Regions from separate parts of the Homo sapiens genome. Here regions 1, 3 and 4 are each linked to region 2. The links are contacts of gene promoters, found by promoter capture Hi-C in human tissues and cell types (Jung and others, 2019). All regions are on one chromosome and are shown on one strand. Each heading gives the region's core, a stretch centred on a gene start or on the middle of the fragment in contact. The rest is flanking DNA. Distances are from core to core; before and after follow the strand shown. Region 1 has its middle 140 kb from the start of CBLN4. Region 2 holds the start of CBLN4 (cerebellin 4 precursor). Region 3 has its middle 170 kb from the start of CBLN4. Region 4 holds the start of LOC105372678 (a long non-coding RNA gene).

Region 1 (2,700 bases), core at 173-2,672, 140 kb before region 2:
AGACCTAAAAAAGATTTATACAGCCATGCAATAATACTGAGAGACTTCAACACACCACTGACAGCATTAAACAGAGGCAGAAAACTAACAAGGAAATTCTAGACTTGAATTCAACACTTAACCAACTGGACTTAAAAGGCATCTATGGAATACTCCCCCTATCAACCACAGAATAATACACTCTCTCATCTGCACACAGAACATACTCCAAGATTGACCACAGGCTCACCCATAAAGCAAGTCTCAATCAACTCAAAAAAATCAAAACCATACCAACCACACTCTTGGACCACAGTGGGATAAAAAGAAAAAAAATCAGTACCCCAGTCCTCTCAAAACCACACAACTACATGAAAATTAAACAACTTGCTTCTAATTAACTTTTGGATAAACAAAAAAATTAAGGCAGAAATTTTAAAAAAATCTTTGAAATAAATGAAAACAGAGACACACCATAGCAAAGTCTCTGGGATGCAGAAAAACCAGGGGAAAAAAGGAAAGTTTACAGCACGACATCCTTATGTGAAAAAGTTAGAAAGATCTCAAACTAACAACCTAATATTACACTTAGAGGAACTAGAAAAACAAGAACAAATAAAATCCAAGGCTAGGAGAACAAATAAAATAAGTAAAATTGGAGTGGAACTGAACGGAATTGAGACCCAAAAATCTACACAATCGATGAAAGAAAAAGTTGTTTCTTTGAAAGGAAAAACAAGATTGATAGATCACTAGCTAGATTAACAAAAAAAAAAAGAGAGAGAGAGATCCAAATAAGCACAATTAGAAATGGCAAAAATGACATTACAACCAATCCCACAGAAATACAAAAGATCCTCAGAGACTACTATGAACACCTCTATACACTCAAACTAGAAAATCTAGAGGAAATGGATGAATTTCTGGAAACACACAACCTCCCAAGGTAAAATCAGGAATAAATTGAAACCCCAGACAGGCCAATATCAAGTTTTGAAATTGAATCATTAATAAAAACCTACCAACCATAAAAGCCCAGACCAGATGGATTCTGTCTTAGTCTGTTCTTGCACTTCTATAAAGAAATACCTGAGATGGAATAATTTATAAAGAAAAGAGGTTTAACTGGCTCATGATTCCACAGGCTGTAAGGAAGCATGACTGGGGAGGCCTCAGGAAACTTACAATCATGGTGGAAGGTGAAGGGGAAGCAGGCACTTCTTCACATGGCCAGAGGAGGAAGAAGTGAGGCAGGAGGTGCTACACATGTTTAAACAACCAGATCTCACAATAACTCACTCACTATCACAAGAACAGAACCAAAGGGAAATCTGCCCCCATGATTCAATCACCTCCTACCAGGCCCTATCTCCAACATTGGAGATTAGAATTTGACATGAGATTTGGGCAGAGGAACAGACCCAAACCATATCAGATTTATAGCTGAATTTTATCAGACCTACAAAGAAAAGCTAGTACCAATCCTACTGAAACTATTTCAAAAAAGTAAGGAAGAGGGACTCCTCCATAACTCATTCTGTGAAGGTAGCGTCACCCTAACGCCAAGAACCTGGCAGAGATACAACGAACAAAATAAAACCTCAGGCCAATATCCCTGATGAACACAGACTCAAAAATCCTCAACAAAATACTAGCAAACTTAATCCAGCAGCACATCAAAAAGTTAATTCACCACAATCAGGTAGGTTTCATCCCTAGGATGCAAGGTTGGTTCAACAGATGCAAATTAATAAAAGTGATTCACCACATAAAGAGAAATAAAAACAAAAACCATATCATCTTCTCAACAGATGCAGGAAAAACCTTCAAGGAAACCCAACATCCTCTCCTGTTATAAACCTTCAACAAACTGGGCAGCAAAAGAACATACCTCAAAATAATAGGAGCCATCTATGACAAACTCACAACCAACATCATACGGAGGAGGCAAAAGCCGGAAGCATTCCTCTTGAGAACTGGAACATGCCAAGGATGCCCATACTTACCACCTATTCACCATAGTACTAGAAGTCCTAGCCAGAGAAAGAAATAAAGCGCATCCAAAATGAAAAAAAGAAGTCAAAGTAGCTCTTGTCTCTGATAATAAAATTTTATACCTGGAGAACCCTAAATACTCAATTAAAAGGCTCAAGGAGCTGATCAACAACTTCAGTAAGGTTTCAAGATACAAAATCAATCTCCAAAAATCAGTAGCATTTCTGTACATCAATAATGTTCAAGCTGAGAGCCAAATCAGGAATGCAATCCCATTTACAATAATAACAAATGCAATAAAATACTTAGAAATACATCCAACCAAGCAGGTGAAAGATCTCTACAAGGAGAACTAGAAAACATTGCTAAAAGAAATCATAGATGACACAAATAGACAAACATTCCATGCTCATCAATTGGAAGAATCAATACCATTAAAATGGCCATACTGTCCCAAACAATCTACCAATTTGATATTTACATCAAAGTGGCAACATCATCTTTCACAAAACTAGGAAAAACTATTCTGAAATTTATATCTAACCAAAAAAGATCCCAAATGGCCAAAGCAATCCTAAGCAAAAAGAATAAACTCAGAGGCATTACATTACCTGACTTCAAACTATAGTATAAGGCTACAGTAACCATAACAGCATGGTACTGGTACAAGAACAGATACCAATAGAACAGAATTTTAAAACCAATAGAACAGAATTTTAAAAAACA
Region 2 (2,700 bases), core at 179-2,678:
TGCCCAGACGGGCAGCCCCGGCAGCGTGAGGACCAGCAGCACGGCCGGCACCGCGGACAGCGCCCGGCGCCCGGAGCCCATGGTGAGCCGTGTGGGCAGCCGCAGCCGGCTGGCGCTGGTGCTCGCCCGCGTCGCCTCCTACCCCGGGATCCCGGTGCTCGGGAAGATGCTAGCGGCTAGGTCGACAGCGCTGCAGGAGCGACGGCGGCGGCGGCGCGCACACTTCCACCAATTCTGTGGCTTGAAGTCAAAGTCTCCCCTCGAGCTCTCTCGCTGGCTCTGTTACCTTTGTCCTTTAAGGAGCTCATGCAGCACCCTTTACCCTACTCTCCTCCGCCCAAGAATCAGCCCTGCCTGGGGCCCCTGCACCCACTCTGGTTCCTAGACATCTGAAAGTCATCAAACCCTCACATTCACACCTCAAGGCAAAAAATAATAATAATAATAAATTCTCACCCCAAACTCAAGCACCACCAGCTAAACCACGGAGCAGGAACAAAAAGAGGGGACTCAAAGAGAAGCCACAAGGGTGGCGGGTGCCCAGCGGCGCGGGTGCCAGTCCTGTCTGGCTTGCGGCAGGGACGAGTTACAGAGGCAGAAGGTCCTTCCCAGGCTGAGAAGAACGCGAGGCTGTGTTCATGGCCAGGACGCCAGCGACTCCCACTTTCGCCTGGTCAAAAAAATCCCCCAAACCTGGTGTCACCCAGAGGTAGGGAGGGAGGCAGCGGCTAGCCAGGTCCCTCGCACCGAAAGCGCGGATTCGCAGGATCAGGTCCAGGGCGCCGGGCGCAGCGTTCAGGGCGGCTGGTCCGGCGGGGTCCTCTCCTGCCTGGCCGCCCGCCCCCAGTCCCTGCGCACAACTTTCTCGTCCCTCGTGCAGCCCGGAGAGCGCGAAGCGGGCACACGCGCTCTATTTATAGGAGCGCAGCGTCCGGCTGGGTTGGCTTATCGCGCAACCCGCGGGCTCCGAGAAAAGGGGGAGAAGGCGTCTGGTGACCCCATCTGAGCAGCTCTCTCCTGACGTTTAACGCACCCCAAAGCAAGCGGGGCGCACAGCACTGGTGATTGGCAAGGTTCGAGGCCCCTCAGCCCCTGAAAGCCCGTGGCGTAAAGGATGCGTGCCCAGAGAGGAGCCCACGGCCCTGCGCTGGCCCCAGCTCCGCGCCCACTCTCTCCTGCTCGATCTGAGTCCGCAGAGGAGGCGGCTGGTCCCCTCACCCCTCCCAGCGCGGAACTCTGCCGCCGAGTGCCCTCCAAGCGGAGCGCGGCGCTGCCAGGCCGGGTCGCGAAAAAGGATAAGCCGCCGCGGACCCGCGCTGCGCGCTGCCCCGAACCTGGGGACCGGCGGGCGTCCCGACCGCGCCTGGCCGGGAGCCCGCCCCACACAGCCCTGGGGCCTGGCGAGCTCAGGGAAGCCTTGGGGCGGACCAGAGCCCGTGGGGGCGGCTGGGAGGAGGTGCCTGATTCCTTCCTTCCGCTCCGGGAAGATGAGCCTCAGAAGCCGCAGGGGCGCGCCTTCCCCCCACACCGCGAATCCTCCCCAGGCATGGCCAAAAAAAAGAGTGGGAGAGGGAGTTAACTCAGCAAGAATAAGTCCTCCGAAACCGTGCCAACAACAATAAAAAAATAAAAATAAAAATAAAAATAAAAGACAATCCCACTCCTAGGAATACAGCATTTTTCTCCCCTTTGGATGCGCTTTCCGCCCCCGTGCCACTCCACTGCTATCTTGGCCTCTGATTTGCAAGAGTTCCCTTCCTCTTCTGCAGCTACCACGGGGAAGGGAGGTTTGTCTCTGTCTGGACCCGGCTGCGTGAACTTGGCCGAGTCACTAACCCTCTCTGAGAGGGGGGCGCGGCGTTAACTAAGGTCCTCCCCACCCCCATCCCGCCAGCTTTCCAATTCTGTGATGCTGTGGGGTCATGGCGCCCCTTCCCCAATTTCTTCTACACTTCCAGCTGCCAGAGGGCAGACACGTATGGTATCTTTAACCAAAACAGTATCCCCTCCAGGCATTCGGAGCTCCTAAAATGGCATTGGCTAGTTATGAATGGAAGGGATGTTTATTGAGGGAGGTCCTTGGGATGGACGGCTCCCATTCCTTCCTGAGTGAAGGACGCCCTCATGAGCGTGGCATTCGAGCCCTCCACAAAACAAGGTGAACCTCGTCTCCAGCCTTTTTCCCTTCCTTCAGAAGGGCCGGGCATTGAGCTATAAGCACCAGCTCCAACTGTTAAAATTGAAGACACTACGAGGAATCCCCTAACCCTCACCTCCCTATAATCTCTCAACTAAAGTGTTAATACTTGGTGCCACAGGGGCCTTCAGATTCTGCTCCAGTGGGGCCAGTATCAGGTGTTTTGACTTTATGATTTTATTTTACTTGTGGTGGGGGGTGGTCTCGCTATATTGCCCAGGCTAGATGCAAAACTACTGGGCTCAAGCGATTCTACTACCTCAGCCTCCCCAGTAGCTGAGACTACAGGCCGGTGTCAGTTCCGGCTGGCAGGTGCTAGTACCATGCTATTTGTTAAAATGTTGAAAGTTACCTATCTAAGCTACAACCAAACAAGGTGAACTAGTGCCTTCTGAAGATGGCCACCATTTACCCAGCTTTGATGCCCCACCCTAAGCCCAGCACAATCTTCACCTGATCCCTCTCTGCACTTTGTAACTCTCTTCCAGATTTTAGGGATGTCT
Region 3 (2,700 bases), core at 161-2,660, 170 kb before region 2:
GTGTATATATTTCATATATACACACACACGCGTAGTGTGTATATATTTCATATATATATATATATATATATATATATATATATATATATATATATAAAATTCCAGATCAGACCAAGTTTCTGCCCTTCTGTTTCTGAGAAAGTAACAAGAATCTAAATGCATATTGTCGGCAAACTCAGCTGTGACTAGGATCCTGGCAGGAGAGGAAAGCACAAAGGAAGCCTGCTCCAGTGACACTGATTCAGCTCCTGCCTGAAGCACCGCTTTCTGGCTGTGTGGCCAAAGCCACATGAAAAAAGAAAAGGGAGGTCCCAAAACCTCACCCACAGTGTGGACACTGCTGTATTTCAGCAATATGGATTGAGAGCCTCAGGGTCATTCATGTATCCTTTGAAGCTGGCATTACACTTTTGGGAAAAGATCCTGAAAAAAAAAATCAGAGATATATATAGAGACTTAGGTACAAAGGTATTTACCACAGGACAATTTCTGACAGTGAAAAATTAGAGATAACCTTAATACCCTAAACAAATAAACAAAGATCCTTCCTCCTTATGATGGAATATTAGTTAGCTATCATAAGCCAGGTTTTTCAAAACTGTTAATAAAATTCTCAAAATGTTAAATGTAAAAAACAAACATAAACATAAAATTACATAGTCTATGCCTCCTATTTTGTAACAGTTCTCACACACACACACACACACACACACACACACACCCCAGTAGCAAACACACACCAATATGTTCATAATGCACAGAATGAAAAGCTAGAGGAAACAGGCCAAAATATTCACAATTATTAAGTAATTATTTCTGGGTACTAAGATTGTGGAGATAGTTCCATTTTTCCTTAGGTTATTATGAATGGTCCAAACTTTAAACAGTGAGCATGTGTTACTATTACAGTTAATAAAAAAAAAAAGTTATTTAAAAAACAAGAACCTGCAGGCCATATTAATAACTGTATTTAAAGCCTATGGAAGTTACCACTGGTAGCTGAGGACATCATGCAGAAAGAACAGGAGAAGGAGAATGGTTGTTGCCTTCACCACGAAAGCCCCAATGTGCTACCTCTACCAGCCACATTGTCAATAACAGTTGGCTTTTTTTTTTTTTTTTTTTTTTTTTTTTTTTTTTTTTTTGCCAGGGACCAATTTCGGGCAGAAGACTTAAATTAGGTAAATATAGATTCTGTTACACTCTATTGTTTTGTTTGCATAGCCAGCAGTCTACGTTGTTTCTAGAGGACTCTAGAGGACCTTAATGTGTTTCTACCTCAAGGTGACCTCTGAAGAGTTACCCTTTAGTAGAAAGAAGTACAATGGTCACCAAAAATGGTCATTCCACAACCATCAAAACAATATTAGACAACTTTGGATTCATATTTTAGTCTTATTCCTGGTTTCGGACAACTCTGATGTTAACAGCTTTTAGAAGTTTTAGATGTTTGCTTTATTTTCTTTCATACCATTACCAATAATTCATTATCAGATAACTAAAATTTGCACATTTTAAGGGATTAACACAGTAAATTTAAAATTTTCATTAAGCTGCCCCACTGCTAAAATGTACAACTTGATTATATACAAAATAATTTCAATTAAGAAGGTAATACATTTTTGCTGTGGTAACAGAAAGCATTTGGAAATAAATTACCTATGTTTATCACTAGCAGCAAGTTAAGCTATTATGTATTCAGAAACGAACAAAAATAAAGCTTATTTTATATATACATATATATACACACACACATATATCCTTTTAGAAAGTTATTTTATGTATGCAAATGAAAATACCCCTGTGGTTGACAACTGTAATTAAGGTTTCTCTCTAGCTTTCAGAAAAATAGTGTTTCCCTCTCTTCCCGCAAAGTAGTTCATCCAATTGGTACACCTAATTGAACCTGAAATTTCATACGTTCCACAAGATCATGTTAATCTCATCATTTTCTTCATCTCTTAGCTTGGTTAAAGGCAAAGAGTTATTGAGAGAAGCTGTGATTGGCATGTCTTCTGCTGATCAATTGCAATTTCCTCTCCTTGTAAACTCTATTTAGTGTTACAAAAACAATTCAAAGGCAGAGATTGTAGGTGCCAGGCTTTTCCTCTGACCTTTAAATCAAATTTAGAATTTCACAGGGTAGTATGCCTTCAAGCAAAATCTGTCGGCTTAATAAAGTGGAAATTTTCTGCAATAAATCTGCAATAAATTTCTACCATTCACAAAGAAAGGTAAGCTTTACTTATTGCTGAATAGTTCTGAACAAGGGCGCAAGCTTCTTGGGTGAGATAAAAACAAGTGCTGTTAAACGTAAGAACAACTCAAAATAATGAAAGAAAAAGGGTGAGTGTCATAAATATAATGAGAAAACAAAAGAAACACAGAGAAGAAAAACAGGATAGAGGAAAAAATATGACAGAATTACGAAGAGGCAAGACCAAGACATGAACAAAGGGGAAACAAAGAAGGGACACAAGGAAAAATAGATGATTAATTTTTGTCTCATTTTGCCAATAAGTACAAGATCATTACAATCATAAGATCTCCTGTGTAGGATACATAAAATCACTGTTTTGGGGGTGGTGAACCACAACTGTACTCTAATCCCTGCTGAGTCTCCATATGTGTTTGTTATAGCACCAAATGATCTAATGGCTTATTCTATTTTCCAAACAAGTAAATGCCAAGTATTTGCTA
Region 4 (2,700 bases), core at 151-2,650, 150 kb before region 2:
TTTTGTTCAAAGACTTTAATTTATTTGAGAGATTTTTCTTCATTTTTGGCAACCTGTTTATCTGAAAATCTACAGTCCTGAAAGATTATTTCTTTATCCTTGAAATGTAAATGTTTTACTAATATGCTTGTCTTATTTAATTTGGCAGGACTAATCGTTGGTCTTTTTGATTTTTAGATTTAATTATTTGGCTGGTTGGGTTTTTTTAATGTTTGAGATTTAGACTCACTATGCCTGTGTTCTCTTTTTCTGCAATTCTTGTTTTGTAGATTTCCTGGAACTATCCTCATCTCTTATTTTTTTCGCTCATCATTTTTAACACTTCTTTTTTGCCATAGAATTATGGGTAATTTTTTTGATTTGCCTTCCATGGAACAAATTCTATTTTTTTCAGTACCCACTCTGCAGTTCATTATCCCCACCTAAGTTCAATCATTACTTAAATTTCCTTGCAGACATTTCAGTGACAGATTATTCCTTCTTCCTACTTATTCTAACTCTGTAAATGTACTCATAAAGTAAATCTTAACAATGCAATTATTTTTTCAACTATTCCCCTAGTTTTGTAGCCAATCTATTTTTTAAAGGGGCATTTCCCTTAATTCTTTATGGTTATTCATGACTTAAAACTGTAGCAGATTGAATATACTCTTTGGTGAACGATTTCTGTTTTAGCATCTTTTAGTTTTGTGTACCTGCAGGCCCCTTTTCTGGTTCACCTCCACCTTTCTAAAGTAAAGGCCTGATTTATTATTCTCATCTACTTATTTCCTGGAAATTGTATTGTAGTTCTCACAAGTATTTAGGCTAGTCCTATCTGCACTCTATGTGGCTAAAAGTACCAAAATATCTACCATATTTAGGGCCTTTTCCTGAGTTCTAAAATTATTCCTATTTTTATCTTCAGCTGGTCATATCCTGAAGACTTTAGAACTCTGGCCACATGTTACCCAGAAGATGACAGATGATGGATCATGATTTTGAATTTCAGGAACAACCACTACCTCTTTATCCAATAACCACATAAGCAATCACAAATCAAGTAAGAAGCAAAATCTTCAGGGATGCTGGGATGGAGATATATAAGTTTTCAGAAAGTACCAAAATACACATGATTTTGAAATAGGTTGATTTTAAAGGGAGGCCTATATCCTTGAGGTAAACTTTTCCCAGTAACAAGCTTATTAAAATCTCTTTCTGCTACACTCCACAAGAAAGACGGAGGAACAGAAGAGAAAAGGGCTTTTAGTAAGAGTATATGGACTTTTTTTTTTTTTGACCCAAGGTCTTGCTTTGTCACCTAGGATGTAGTGCACTGGCGTGATCACAGCTCACTGAAGTGTGGAGCTCCTAGGCTCAAGCAATCCTCCCACCCTAGCTTCCCAAGTAGCTGGGACTACAGGTGCAAGCCACTATCTCCAGCTAATTTTTCTATTTTTTGTAGACATGGGGCCTCACTATGTTCCCCACGCTGGTCACAAACTCCTGGCCTCAAGCAATCCTCAATCCTCCTGCCTTAGCCTCCCAAAGTGCTGGCATTACAGACATAAGCCACCATGGCCATGACCTTTTAAAGCTGTTTTATAATGAAATTTTTAAACATCTTCTCCACACTATTAAAAGCTGATTTTTGTTTACCTTTTATGGGAAAGAGTTTTGCTAACATCTTAGTGAAAAACAGTTGAGAGTTTGTAATAAAACTATTAATAGTCATTCATTTATTCAATCAATACATATTTATGCAATACCTACTAGGTTCTAGAATAATGGCTGGTACATTACATATATTGATATAACGAGGAACAAATCCAATCCCTAACCTCAATCTATGTAATTTGCAAGTCTCTACAGACAAATAGATTACGGATAGACAGATAAATAGATATTAAACATATATGTATGTATAATAAGCCACAAGTACACATATACTTTTAGAATTGAACAAATGTGTATTATCTCCTTACTTAAAGAGAACTAGGTATAGAATATTCATTAATGTATAAGCATTCTAATTAATTGTTACAGGTTGAAATGAATGTGAGTGTATATATGCACTCATATGAAAACTTCATACTAAATGATGTAGAACACATTGCTTACACCAACAGTACCCTTTTGTCTTCTCAACACATCCTTTTTATCCTTTAATAAAGTCCATGGTTTTCAAAAAATAGACATTATTAAGGGAATGAGCTGAATTTCAGGCATCTACAGTTGGTTTATCATCAACTTACATTTTGTAAGTGTTCAACATCAACACTTACAAAAGAAATTTTACATTTGGCTGTACCATACTGTAAAAATAAAAAGCAACAATAATCACATCAACAAGACTATGTTTGTTAAATATTTCCATAACTTCTGCCTGTTGATGGCTTCCGGCTTTCCTACAATGGGTAGCATTTCAGATTCTGACTGATAAGCAAAGAGCTAAAGTGATTGCTAAAAACTCTAGAGAATTTTAGGTTAAAAAAGTCGTAGGTGTTTCATTTAGACACCTATGTCTGTTGATTTACTTTTGGTTTGTTTGTATGGCTCTCACAAATTTCTGGAAAAAGAAAAATGATCAGAGAGAAGGTTTGAAAGAGTGAGAAAAGCAAAGTGGAAAAAAATAACAACATGATCAGAGATTGTAACTAAGTCTAAATTTGGAAACTTATTTCAGGTTATTTTTATTTTTACTCATCACAGTCAATAATA

What was found. Contacts are between HindIII fragments. The study calls those that stand out against the background at their distance.
Region 1: a contact is called between a fragment that was not itself captured here and the fragment with the promoter of CBLN4 in region 2, in 2 of the 25 tissues and cell types used here (lymphoblastoid cells and thymus).
Region 3: a fragment that was not itself captured here is called in contact with the fragment with the promoter of CBLN4 in region 2 in 4 of the 25 tissues and cell types used here (H1 embryonic stem cells, lymphoblastoid cells, mesenchymal stem cells and 1 more).
Region 4: a contact is called between a fragment that was not itself captured here and the fragment with the promoter of CBLN4 in region 2, in 2 of the 25 tissues and cell types used here (dorsolateral prefrontal cortex and lymphoblastoid cells).

The regions. Positions count from the first base shown.
Region 1 is chr20:55,867,840-55,870,539 of GRCh38, forward strand. No RefSeq gene overlaps it. Among named protein-coding and RNA genes, the nearest start is that of CBLN4, 140 kb to the right of the region's middle. The HindIII fragment of the contact is 5,189 bases long and covers 1-2,700 here.
Region 2 is chr20:56,004,091-56,006,790 of GRCh38, forward strand. It overlaps CBLN4 (cerebellin 4 precursor), which reads right to left and starts at 1,429. Exons shown (of 3, transcript NM_080617.6): 1 at 1-1,429. The coding sequence starts at 81. The HindIII fragment of the contact is 15,736 bases long and covers 1-2,700 here.
Region 3 is chr20:55,831,634-55,834,333 of GRCh38, forward strand. No RefSeq gene overlaps it. Among named protein-coding and RNA genes, the nearest start is that of CBLN4, 170 kb to the right of the region's middle. The HindIII fragment of the contact is 3,890 bases long and covers 1-2,700 here.
Region 4 is chr20:55,851,595-55,854,294 of GRCh38, forward strand. It overlaps LOC105372678 (a long non-coding RNA gene), which reads left to right and starts at 914. Exons shown (of 3, transcript XR_001754724.1): 1 at 914-1,042. The HindIII fragment of the contact is 4,383 bases long and covers 1-2,700 here.